Linked DNA regions of Homo sapiens: all the other regions are linked to region 1. The links are contacts of gene promoters, found by promoter capture Hi-C in human tissues and cell types (Jung and others, 2019). All regions are on one chromosome and are shown on one strand. Each heading gives the region's core, a stretch centred on a gene start or on the middle of the fragment in contact. The rest is flanking DNA. Distances are from core to core; before and after follow the strand shown.

Region 1 (4,189 bases), core at 1-2,500:
CCACCGGGCCCCGGGGACCTGGAGGCGGTCAGCGCCCCCGACTCAGCCGCCCCCGGCCCCGCCCCCTGCCCGTCCGCACCGCCCGCGCCCCCCTCCGCGCCCGCTCGCCGCCGCCCGCCCCGCCGCAACGCGCCCCGGCGCCGCCGCCTCTCGGCCGCTGCGCTGCTCTCGTCCGGCTCCACGTCGGCGGGCGGGGGCGCGCAGTGCCCGTTCTCGCCTGCGCCTGCCGCCGCGCCCAGCCCGTTTTCGGTAGTCGGGGACGCACCGTCGGGGCCCACGGGGGCGCGCTTCTCGCTGAGCGTGCGCGTGCGCAGCTTGGCCACTCGGTAGATGCGCGCGTAGACCAGGCCCATGATGAGGCAGGGCGCGAAGAAGGAGCCGATGCAGGAGGACAGGATGTACCAGGTCTCGTCGTTGAGGCCGCACTGCGGGTAGGCGGCGCCGTCGGGCTGGCGGTAGAGCGAGACCAGCGGCGGGAAGGAGATGACGGCCGAGATGAGCCACACGGCCACGATGGTGGCCTTGACGCGGCGTGGTGTGCGCTTCAGGTTGTACTCGACGGCCTGCGTCACCGACCAGTAGCGGTCCAGGCTGATGGCACACAGATGCACGATCGACGAGGTGCAAAACAGCACATCGAGCGCCAGGTACACGCCGCACCACACCTGCCCGAAGTACCAGTAGGCCATGAGCTCGTTGGCCAACGAGAAGGGCATGACCAGCGTGGCCACCAGGATGTCGGCCGAGGCCAGCGACACCAGGAAGAGGTTCTGTGGCGCGCGCAGCGCCCGGCTGGTCAGCACGGCGATCACCACCAGCACGTTGCCCACCACGGTGAAGACGATGAGGAAGCCCACCACGGCAGCCAGCCCTGCCACCGCGCCCGCCGAGTACTGGCCGCGCGGCGGCCCCCAGGAAGCCCCCGAGGCATTGGCAACCCCGCCGCTGCCCCTCTCGCCCGCGCCGCTCGCATTGGGGCCCGCCGCTGCCGCCACCGCCAGCGCCGCCGCCAGCGCCGGGGACGCCATGGTCCTCCCGCGAGCTACGCCGTCCCTCCTGGAGCCGGGGCGCAGCCGCGGCAGCTCGGGCGCCCCCCAGCCGGGGTCGGCGCCCGCATCGCCGCCTGCTGCTCGGGCGCGCCCGCCGGGGACCGCGGCGCCCAGCAGCCGGCCCTCGGCCGTGGTGGCTCCGCGGGCGGCGCGCCGGAGAGCGTGGCTGCCGGGCTCCCCGCAGCTGCCGAGCGTGTAAGTGCAGAGCAGGAGGCGCCCGGAGCGAGCGGCGACGCGGCTGCGGGGGGAGGGGGGCAGGTCCCGGGGTCCTCGCGCGGCCCCGCCCTCGGCCCGGCTCACGGGGAGCGCCCCGGCGTCGAGCCCACGGCGACGCGGCGCCCGAGCGGGCGTGCCTGAGCGGCCCCGCGGTCCCGGAGCCCAGCCGGGGCGCAGGCGACAGGCGGCGGCGGCCCGGGCGCTCCGCCTCCCATCCGGCCGGCTAGGGCTCGGCGCGCCGGGGCGCCGGCCGCCGCTCCTCCGGGCCCCCGCGCCCGCGCGCTCCCTCCGTCTCCAACTTTACTTTCCCGGGCGGGGCGCCGGCGCCGCCGCGAGTCCTCCGGCTGCTCCCGGGCGCGGGCGCCCCCCGCGGTCCACGCTTGGCCGTGCGGCCGCCGCCTCGCTCGCCGGAGCTGCGCCGCCGCCGCCGCCGCCGCCCTGCGCTGGGCGCGAGTGCGGCCGCCTGCGATCGGCTTCCAACTTGGGTCGAGTTGCGCAGCGGGGCGGGCGCGCGGGGCGGGGCGGGCCGCGGGCCCTGGGGAGCTGGCCGGGAACCGGAGCCCGCGGCCGCCTGGTCGAACCTGCCCGCGCGGCGCCGGGGAGGAGTCCGGGGCGGCGGCGCGGGGCGCGCGCTCGGCGAGGGCGCCCCCTCCAGGGCCGCCTGCAGCCTGCGGGACGGGGCCGAGCGGCGGCCGGCCTGGGTGGTGAGTTCCAGAAGCTGCTCTTTCTAAGACTGGAGCCTCCTTCGCCTCCCCCGGCGCAGGCATGGGCGCAGGCGGGGGCGCGCACACGCGCGCGCGCAGCACGGGCGGCTCGGGGTCCATGGCCTGATGGCAGAGCAACCTCTCGCAGCCTGGGGGAGGACGCGACGCTACCTGCGTGCGCACAGGTCCTGCCGAGCTCAGGGTCCGGACCAGATCCTGGATCGGCGCTCCCCGTCAGAGCCACCTCCGCACCCACCCCGGCCTCAGTTCCCTCGGCCCACTTCCCAGCGCTGCTGGAGCATGAATCATAACTAACGGCGGTGTCTGTGGAAGCCCTGGGCAAGCTCCCAAGCTCTGCACCCATGTTAGCAGTGATTGAAGTTTAATCCTTAGGCTCTCAGGCCCTGCTTTTAAAGGATGGAGAGGTGTTCAAAGTCACCACCTCTGACAAACACCCAGAACGGAGCTGCCTGGATGATGGAGCTTTTTGCAAGGGTGGGCTCAGGGGAGAGCGGCCGTTGAGGTAGCCCCCGTGCACCCTCGCCCCCGTCCGCGCACCTCCATTCTGCAGATGTGCACTGCCACGTGCACTGCCACTCTGTGGCCCATGTTGGGTGCTGGCTTCTGCCTCCAGGCAGCCTGGGGTCTGTGGGAGAGGGACTTCCAGGGACGAGGTGATCCAGGAGGAGAGCTGGAGTTCTCAGGCCTGACGTTTCTCTGCTAGGACCGAAGGGACGACCCTTCTCCCAAACGTCCAGAAACGAACCCCAGCTGGCTGGCCTCTCCCTGCATGGGCCCGCAGGAGAGAGGGAGGGAAGGTCTGTCCATCCTGTGGCTAGAACCGGCGGGGAAGGGGCGCTTCTGAGTGCCCGGGAGGTCATCATGAAGAGCGGCTGGAGTGACTGCCCTACCCCCGGGATGCCTATCCATGCCCGTGGCCTGGGGCAGCTTCTCTCTGAGCTCCTGAAGGGCGCCAGCTTTAGCCTCAGAGCCTGTCGTGTTCTCTGCTGCTCAGCCCTACTGGGGAGCATGTCTGTCTCCGCAGAGACACTGCCAGGAGCTACGGCTTCGTTCTTCACCATGTTTGTCACCAGCAGGGCCTGCATTGGGGGTGTGGAGGCCGAGCCAGGGCCCGGCAGAAAGCAAATATTTCAGATGATGGGCCTGCCAAGCAGGGGCGCACGTTGGAGCCAAAGCCTTCTGTGCCAGTCCTGTGCTAGTCTAGGGCACATATGCCCTTCGGGGAGGCAACAGGCCATGGCTGTCCTGTGGGAGGTGTGTGACCTGGGGATGGTGGAGGGTCACCATCCTTACTAAAGGCCCTCCTGGTTCTGGTTGCCTAAAAGGTGCCACCTGTCCAGGGCACCTGGAGGTGCATTTTTCAGGGAAGCCCACACACACCTGCTTCCTTCATGGTCGGCCCGCTGGAGCCCTTGTCTCTATTGAGCCCTCTGCGATGGCAGAGAGTGAGGGGGGCCTGGCCTCAGTTGAGGTGCTCACCATCTGTGGGTGGATGGGGCCACCCACTGAGGTGAATGCGCTGACAACCATCAGTGCCCTGGGGCTCCTCCCCCAGCCTGGGAGCGGGGTTGTCAAGGAAGCCTTCCTGGAGGAGGTGACCAAACTGTGCTTAGAGAGTGAGGAGGTGTTATGAGGAAGGGGGAGGCCTCTGTAGGCTGTCCTTCTTCCAGTGGGAGTGGGCTTTGTACTGGGGGCGTGGGGAGACAGGAGGACTAGGAAAGAGCAGTGGCAGGGGCCAGATGCAGGCTTTGGAGAAGGTCTCTCTCCCTCGGCATCAGCGTGCCTCCCACCCCCATCCTGAAGGGCTCTCTTTTTGAGAAGTGCTTTGGGGGATGCGCAGGGGCATGGGGATCTATCTAGGATCCTGGCTCCTATGTTCCCAAGAGATGGCAGCCCAGGCACGGGAATTTGGAGGGAAAAGGACACGGAGCACCTGGGGCCCTGAGCCAGATGAGCCTCCCACTGCCCAGGAGGGCTGAAGGCAGGGGCCACTCACAGGCCAGGCTGAGGGCATCTGGAGTGCCTGGCCAGTGAGCGGCCCAGGCCCTTGGGGATGGCAGCCAACAGGCTGACATGCTGCTGGCAACACCTCCTGGCATGACCAGGGAGGGGTCAGAAGGGTCCACTCCAGGGCCTGGATGGAGCCAAGGGCAAAAAGCTGGGGCCTGGAGTCATTAGGAGGAGCGAAGCCCTGGGCCA
Region 2 (4,115 bases), core at 231-2,730, 90 kb after region 1:
GCTCTGTGCACACCAAGCCGTGTGCAGGATAGGCTACCCTAGAGAGCCTGGGTACCCACGCAGCCTTCCACGAAGCCCCACCTACATGGCTGCTGCAGGTTCTCACCATCCTGTGCTCACCGGGAAGGCTGGCAGGTCCACACCGGAAACCATGGGCTGGGGAGAAGCAGGGCCTTGGTGCTAGAGAGACCTGCCCAAGCATTCTTCTGCAAGCCCCGAGACAGAGGAGTGAGCAAGCCTCAGGGGCGTGACAGGTGCTCAGGAGAGAGCAGGACACATGCAGAACCTGGAGAGAGCCAGAGAGGGACCGGCCACAGAGAAGCCCATCGCCTGCCAGCACTGACGTGGACGTTGGGAAAAGGTCAACCCCCAGCCCCGGGCTCCTCCCGCTGCTCTCAGCCCGGCCTGCTGTGCACCGTTCGGCTGGGTGGGGCTGCAAATGTACCCCGCGTGCTTGTGCTCCAGCCGCATCAGCCCCGGCCCCCAGTGCTCACTGGGTCCCCACTGCAGCAATGGAGCAGCGAGGAGACCAGTCTGGAGCCATCTAGACCCACAATGAGGATAGCAGGATTCCTGGGGACAGCCCAAGGCATACCTGTCCTTCATAAATGCTGATAAACAGCGTAAAATAGAGCTGGGAAAGATTAAAACCACAGAGCCAGCGTCCAGAGCGGGGCCTGCCTGTCATTGGTGTTTATGTCGCCATAGCAGCGACCAGGCAGGTGACTTGCTCCTGGGGGCAGGCCCCTGTTGAATGACCTCCCAGGATGAAGCACAGATCCCACCCCCTTAGTCCCCAGAACTCCTCACCTTGCAGCCCACTCCTCACACCAGGTCCTCTTCCCTGCAGGTTTCTGCTGGTGGCCCAGCCCTGGCTGGGATTCCTCACTCCCACGCCTCAAGCCTGAGAATCCTTCCGGAAACACAAGGTGAGCACATGCGACATGCAGATTCCACAGGGTCTTTTCCACATTAGCCCCATGCCCAGTGCTGTTGTTCGCCTCTCTACAGGTGGGAAATGGAGACCCAGAGTGGTCAGGAGGCAGCTCCAGGGAGGCAGAGCTCTGAGCCACACTTGTGCCTGTCTGTCTCCACAACCCAGGTGGCCTTTCCAGGGGGAGGGTGCCTGAGTGTCCCTGAGGCCCAGCAGGTGGCTGTGTCAGGAGATCTGAGCAGCCCTGGCCCTGGTGTAAAGAAAGCCTGGGACTCTCTCGCCAGAACCTAAGGGGTAGGTCGTTGGCAGAGGCAGGGGCAGGCACAGCGTAGAGAGGCGGCCCAGAGGCACCTGACACTTAGGAGCGTGGATGCTGACTCTGCTGGGGGCTTTGTCCCTGAGTGAAAGTCACTAAGCCATTGTCGTGTTCTAAAGCGTACATCTCAGAATCTCAGGGTCTGCAGAAGACTTTGGGGACCTCGGTCCCCACCCTCCCATGCTTCCTCCCCAGCTGGAGCCCCACCTCCCCACCTCCCCACCTCCCCACCTCCCCACCTCCCCATTGTCCTCGGAGTCCCCAGCTGGCCTCTCTCAGCCCCCTGGGAAGTTCACAACATTTGCAGCCCCATATCCCAGAACAAGCAGCTGGGCCTGTCCCTGGGGCGGTGGGACCTATGCTGGCTCCACAGCTGCGGGACAGGTTCCGGGTTCCCGGGTGTCCGCCCTTGTCTGAAGAATGTACACCCATCGTGGTGAAACCATAAAATCCTCGCCATACGACAATGCTGATGGCAGCCGTGGGCCACCGAGCCATTTCTCGATTCCCCGTGCCCACACTTGGCCCAGAGTATCACACCTAATCCTTCCCGCAGTGTGTGCTGTTAGTGTGAGCCCCATGTCATGGATACGAGGCACAGAGGCAGAGTGCTGGTAGCCTGTGCCCTGGTCGCAGCCCGGGGTTCCCTGGTCATCCTGATGCCAAAGCTCACCACTTCCCTGTGCTGTCCCCTCTCAGAAAGCCGCCTGCAATGCGCCTGTGGTGGGGGGTGGGGTGGCGCATGTGTGCCTAGGAAACGTGCCTGTGCCTCTGTGGATGACGTCGGGACTCGACGCCTCCTGCAGGAGGCAGCCTGGGGCTTCTGGCTCATCTCTATTCTGGCTGGCAGGAGCCAGCCCTTGTCAAGGCTGTCTCGGCCGCTAGAGCCGGGCTTCAGGTGTGAGCCTGTGCCTAGGACATGCGCAAGTCCACAGCACAGCCAGTGCATGCCGGGCCTCAGAGCCTCCTGTGTGATGGGAGCCCTTACCTGCTCTGAGAGTGGCGCAGCTCTCAGGAGGGGTCACCTCCGCCTTAGGCTCAGCTCAGCCAGACAGGCTAGCCTCTTACACTGCACACAGTAGGTGCTCAATAGGGAGTTTTTGGTTAATAAATTACTGAAGGAAGGAGGAAGAGAAAGGAAGACAGGGAGGAAGGAAGGGAGGGAGGGAAAGAAGGAGGGAGAAAAGGAGGGAGGGAGGGAGGGAGAAAGAAGGGAGGGAGGAAGGGAGGGAGGGAGAGAGGGAAGGAGAAAGGGAGGAGGGGAGGGAGAGAGGGAGGGAGGAAGGAAGAGAGGGAGGGAGGGAGGAGGAAAGAAGGGAGGGAAGAAGGGAGGGAGGGAGGGATGATGGGAAGGAGGGAGGGAGAAAGGAAGGGACAGAGGCAGGGAGGGAGGGAGGGAGGAAGGGAGGAAATGCTCTTTGTCCCCGCAGCCTGCTCTGAGCAAGGCCCTGGAAGACACAGGTGTCTGCTCTGTGGCTCTGGGCATCCTGGGTCCACGGAGGTCCACAACGGCTCAGCAGGGTGTCCTGGAACCACAAGAACAGGATGAGGGTTGTGACCAGGGCAGAGGCCCCTTGGACAGTGACCCTGAGGCAGCTCTCCAGGGACACAGGGTCAGGACGGGGGTCGGGATGAAGGAGGCAGTGCAGACAGGAAAGCTGGCCTGGACCCAGCCCCCTGCACATCAGTGCAGCTGCAACCCCCGGCCTCCACCTCCCCACAGCCCTCCTGTGCTCCTGGCTCCAAGATCACGGCCTACCCCACGTCCATGTGACAGGGCCCTAGTACTGGGGAAAAGAGCAGCAGCAGCATTACATGTGCAATTGGGAAAATTATGAAAATTATTGATATTTATAAAAAGACCATTTTTTCCAATCCTATGTCTACAAAGAGCCACGGGTCACTTTTTCCTGTGCCTGGAGTCTCCTCTGCAATGGAAGGTGGCAAGGATCCTTGGAGGGCCGCCGACTCCACATTCTAGGGAGGAGATAGCCGGAACCACCTAGAACATCCTGTTTTGCCAGAAAGCAAGGATGCTTTCCAGACACCAGGGGTTCTTCCGGAAGGACAAAGCATCCTGCTTGAAGGCTCTCCCTCCTGCCAAGTTATAATAATCTGAGCACAAAAACAATAATAATTACAACACTGATTAATTAAATCAGTTGAGTTTCAGAAGGTCTCTCGGTCCGTAAGGCTCCTCACAGGAGGAAAGTTAACACACAGCGTGCCACCCCTCATGGTGCGGGCTGCAGACTTTCTTCCTAGGGAGGGAACTAGGCCAGGGCTGCCCTGCCGGACCCACCTCAGGCCCAGCCATGAAGGTGCTCCAGGAGTCTGTTCTGGCCTGTGCCACATCCAGGCTTGGATGGGGCTGGAGATACTGGCCTTGCATCCTTCTCACTCCTCTCCACTTCCCGTAGGCTGGACCTGCACCTGCCAGGTGACCATGGCCTCGGTGTGGGAGCAACATGGGGAGACCTGGGTCCCTGAGTGGCCATGACCATCGACCTGGAGCAATCAGCTCAGGACTGTTAGGTGGGAGCAGCAATCATCCAGCTCCTTCAAGCTGCAGCATCCAGGGGTCTCTTCATTCCATTATGGATATAGCCTAAGAAATGGTGACAGTAAAGGGTCTCATACAACACGTCCCATTTTTATTAATTTTAATAAATAGGAGAAATTGAATATACATGGGTAGTCCATTTGTTGAACTAAGCTTCTGTCTGCTTATAAAGGTTGGATACACATTTGCTTTTCTGTCTAAGAGGAGAAGAGTGTTTGCAGGAAACTGAGACAGCAGTGTCTGTGTTAAGAGTAGGAAGGCAGGGCCTGCTCCAGAACCTGCCTCCAAATCCCAGAGACCAC
Region 3 (4,167 bases), core at 335-2,834, 100 kb before region 1:
GAGAATGTGAACCCTTCGAGGTCCTCGGGAAGCGAATCTGGGGACCCCAAGAAGGAGGAGGTGGGCCGGGGCATTCCAGGTTCACATCTGGGGCTGGAGACTTTGGCCTGGCATGCACAGGTCTCAGCTGCCCAGGCCTGGGAAGAGCTGGCATGATGACACCCGCTGGCATGGCCTCGGTGCGCGAGCCTGGCACACAGTGGATGCTTGAAGACTGTCTGCGAATGCTCCAATGACCTTATCAGGAGGCACATCTGGTGGTTAGGCCGCTGTCCTTGGTACTGCTAGGGCTGAGTCCCTGAGGGTAGCAGCTATCTCTAGGACTGAGACTGACCCGTATTCCTTGGTGATATCCAGGAGCAGTGCTGGCAGCTGCATGGTTGGGCCTCCAAACCTCAGGTTGCAATTTGATCCCAGAGTGTTGGAGGTGGGGCCTAATGGAAGGTGTTTTCCTCATGGAGTGGATCCCTGTGAGTAGATTCATGCCCTGGGGCGGGGGTTGGGGAGTGAATTCTACTGTCTGAGTTTCCGACAAAGCAGCTACTGAAAATAGCCCGCACCCACCTCCTTCTCTGACTTCCTCTCCCGCCCTGTGAGCTCCACACACGCAGCCCCTCCCCCTCCACCGTGAGTGGAAGCTTCCTGAGGCCTCCCCAGAAGCCAAGCAGATGCCAGGGCCGTGCTTCCCAGGCAGCGTGCAGAACCGTGAGCAAGTAAGCTTCTGTTCTTTATAAATCACCCAGCCTCGGGTATCCTTTGTAGCGACACAAGTGGACTGAGATAGGCAGCTGTCGTTCAGCAGCATTTACTTTGTGAAGGCACTGGAAGCCTTTCCACTTTAGCACAGAAGACTTCCCAGGGGCCACAGCAGGTGCACACTTGTGCAGCCGACAGCGGAAAGGCAGAGATGAGTTGGCCAGTCACTGGGTGTCTTCCCCATGATGCTGGGGGCCCCTGGAAGGCAGGGCCAGCGCCTTGTCATCTCTGTACCCAGTGCCTTTTCTAGAGGAAAGGGACAATATTAGAGATTCGATGTTTTCCAAGGCAGAAAGTTCCCGAACGTATTGCAGGAGGCTTGGACTCTGCTCCTTAACAGCCAGTGTGTCTGCAGCAGCAGCTGCCCACAGTGGGGGACATGTCCCAGCCAAGGGCTGCAGAGTCCTCACAGCAGTGCCTCCTCGCCTCCAAGGCCTGGCTGGCAGGTCAGCCCGAAGAGGCTTCCAGACTTCCCCGGGCAGGATGGGCGGCACCGCCTGTGTCCCTGCCCCTCTCACCTGCTACCTTGCATCCTGGTGCTATGGCCATCACCACAGACAGGCTTACTCCCCGAGGACAAGGGCCACAGCACAGCCCTCTCCCTCACTGATTCATCCACACGTTTGTGGAGGCTGGCTCTGAAGGCCCTGGACTGCTCACCTCCACAGGGACCAAGTCTCCCTCCCACCCTGAGACCAGCCCAGGAGGCCCTGAGGCCTTCAGCCAGTATACTGGGTGGATAATGTCCCCCTCATTTCATGTCTCTCCTGGAACCCCAGAATTTGCCCTTCTCCGGAAACAGGGAACTGCAGGTGTAATTGGTTCAGTTAAATGAGGCCCTGTTTGAGTAGGGTGGGCCCTGAACCCACATGACTGGTGTCCTTAGAAGGGGGGAAGAGGCATGGACAGGCAGGGAGTGTGCGGGGCCAGTGGGGGCAGAGACCAGAGTCCTGCTGTAGCCTGCAGAGGCTGGAAGAGGCAGGAAGGAGCCTCCCTGGGGACTGCAGAGCCACCACAGTCCTGCTGGCACCTGGATCTCGGGCTTCTGGCCTCCACAACTTGGGGAGAAGCAGTGTCTGTTGTTTGAAGCTTCAGTTTGTGGGACTTGGTTTTGGCGGCCCCAGGACACGAATCTGGCCGGCATCCGTTGGAATGAGTCTATCTGAGCAGACAGAGCGGCCCCAGCCTTGCTGGCCTCCCGTTCCCGCAGCCCATTCTGTGTTCTGCCTCCCCACTCTCCTGCCGTTTTTCTTCCCATCCCTGCTGTCCCTCACATGGGGGCCACCACGCTGGACCACTGCCTTACCCTCCTGTGTCCACGTCCGTGGTGATGGAGGTGGCTTAGCAGTGAGTCCCCATCTCAGGGAATTCAAGCCAGGCTGGAAGGGGGATGACTGAAGGTCCTTTGCAGCCTGCCAGGAAGGCTCTGAGAAGTCAGGCCCAGCCCTGGGCTCCCCATGGAGCTGCCCACTCCCCTCGGGGCTACCCTCCTCCTCACCGGGGAAGATGAGGCCTTGATCCCAGAGCTCCGGGGGCCCATCTGGACTCCACAGTGGGCATAATTATCACCTGAGTTGTAATATTCTAGCCAGGATTCAGCCTTCCCCTTGCCTGTCCAGCTCACCAGCCCCGCCTTCAACCCCTACTGGGCCTGCGTCACCCCCACCTCTGGGTCAGCCCAAGATGCTCCTGGCCCTCCTGACAAAATCTCCATCTCTCAGCCTGGCATAGCTCTTGCCTGCCTGGGTGGCTGTGACTTCCATTTGGGCTGCAGGCATCACGCTGCTTTCTCCACCTGAGGCACACCTGCCACCCTTGTCCACCCAGATCACACCTCCCACCCTCGTCCACCCAGCTCACCCCTCCCACCTGCGACCACCCGGATCACACCTGCCACCCGTGTCCACCCGGACCACACCTCCCACCTTCGTCCACCCGGGTCACCCGTCCCACCCGTGACCACCCAGATTACACCCCTCCCACCAGCGTCCACCCAGATTGCCCCTCCTGCCCACGTCTACCCGGGTCACCTCTCCCACCCGTGTCCATCTGTCCCACCCGTGTCCACCTGTCCCACCCGTGTCCACCTGTCCCACCCGTGTCACCTCTCCCACCTGTGTCCACCTGTCCCACCCGTGTCACCTCTCCCACCCATGTCCACCTGTCCAGCTTTCACAACTTTCTTTCAGCTTGGGAGCTGTAATGTGTAGAAAACCTTCCTGTCCAAATGAGCTCTGACTGGCCCTTAACACAGTGGCCTGCAGCTTGGGGAAACAACTCCAGGTGGCTATGCTGGTGGGTGCTGGGCATCGGAGTGGCACGGGCAGCCTGTCTGGTTGGGGATAAGACAAGCATAAGGGCAGGATGGGCCTCAGGAGAGGGATTTGAAGGACAGGCAGGCTACCTCCTCTGGAGCATGATGCTTATTCTGTGTTGCCTGGACTGGATGCAGAGGACAGTACCCTGGGTGGGACGCCTGGACCTGCCACCCAGCTGTCACAGCCACAGCCACAGCTCCAGTCATCACAGCCACAGCTCCAGCCGTGTTCCCCCAGGGAAGGGCAGGCGAAGTTGCTCCCTCCTTTCTCCTGTGGGCAGATGGAGCCCTGTGCTCCTGCCGCCCCGGTGAGTACCTGCACAGGAAGCCTTGTGACGACCTCCCCGAGGCAGTGGGTGGGGGGCGGGGGCGCTTTCAGAGCTGGCACAGGCTGCCCTGGAGGGAGAGGGGTGTCTTCAGGGCCTGGAGCCTGCCCTGGTGAGGGTAGCCTCTGGGCCATGGGCTGCAGGAGCTGAGAGCCATGACGGCCCCCTCCCCACGCTGGCACGGCCGGCACAGCGCAGCACTGCCCGGCAGCAGGGAGGCTGGAACCCCAGACACTCATCTGGCCTGCCCCTGGACCGTGGCTACCTGGGCCCAGGCAGGGAGGTGGGAGGCAGAGACGGAGTGCAGGCCCCTCCACAGGGCCTGGGTGGCCCCGCCGCCACAGCCGGAAGGTGGGCTCAGCACTCAGCTGTGATCTCCCTGGAGCTCAGGGAGGCCATATCAACCCTAGAGCGGGGACCCCAGGAAAGGAGAACCACCTGCACCCCACGCCTTGCAGAGTCCCGGCCGGGCCTCTTCCTGCTCCAGCTCGGGCTCCCGGAGACGGCTGCTGTAAAACCCAGGCTGTTCCCATCCTACAAACAAGGAAACAAACAGCACTTGGGTGTACTCCCATTTTAGAGACCAGGAAACAGACCTGGAGAATGAGGGGCTTTGGACCAGTGCTCCCCGGGGAGGGGTAAGGGCTGACTCTGGTCAGAAGTGGGGTCAGGGAGGTGGGAGGGGAGTGACCTGTGACCTTTGGGCACACGTGTCACCTGCTTCCTGGGAGGCCAGCAGGGCTTATGCTTTTTGGTTTTCAGGAGAAG

The links. The method cuts DNA at HindIII sites, captures the fragments that hold promoters and counts their contacts. A contact is called where the count stands out against the background at its distance.
Region 2: a fragment that was not itself captured here is called in contact with the fragment with the promoter of ADRA2C in region 1 in 2 of the 25 tissues and cell types used here (aorta and lymphoblastoid cells).
Region 3: a contact is called between a fragment that was not itself captured here and the fragment with the promoter of ADRA2C in region 1, in 3 of the 25 tissues and cell types used here (heart left ventricle, small bowel and spleen).

What each region holds. Positions count from the first base shown.
Region 1 is chr4:3,763,446-3,767,634 of GRCh38, reverse strand. It overlaps ADRA2C (adrenoceptor alpha 2C), which reads right to left and starts at 1,250. Exons shown (of 1, transcript NM_000683.4): 1 at 1-1,250. The coding sequence starts at 1,028. The HindIII fragment of the contact is 18,027 bases long and covers 1-4,189 here.
Region 2 is chr4:3,673,417-3,677,531 of GRCh38, reverse strand. It overlaps LINC02171 (long intergenic non-protein coding RNA 2171), which reads left to right. Exons shown (of 3, transcript NR_034136.1): 1 at 1-361; 2 at 851-929; 3 at 3,671-3,939. Among named protein-coding and RNA genes, the nearest start is that of LINC02171, 2.4 kb to the left of the region's middle. RefSeq lists a silencer at 1,936-2,230. The HindIII fragment of the contact is 8,065 bases long and covers 1-4,115 here.
Region 3 is chr4:3,864,663-3,868,829 of GRCh38, reverse strand. No RefSeq gene overlaps it. Among named protein-coding and RNA genes, the nearest start is that of ADRA2C, 100 kb to the right of the region's middle. RefSeq lists enhancers at 69-582, 3,064-4,004, 4,005-4,167. The HindIII fragment of the contact is 4,095 bases long and covers 1-3,631 here.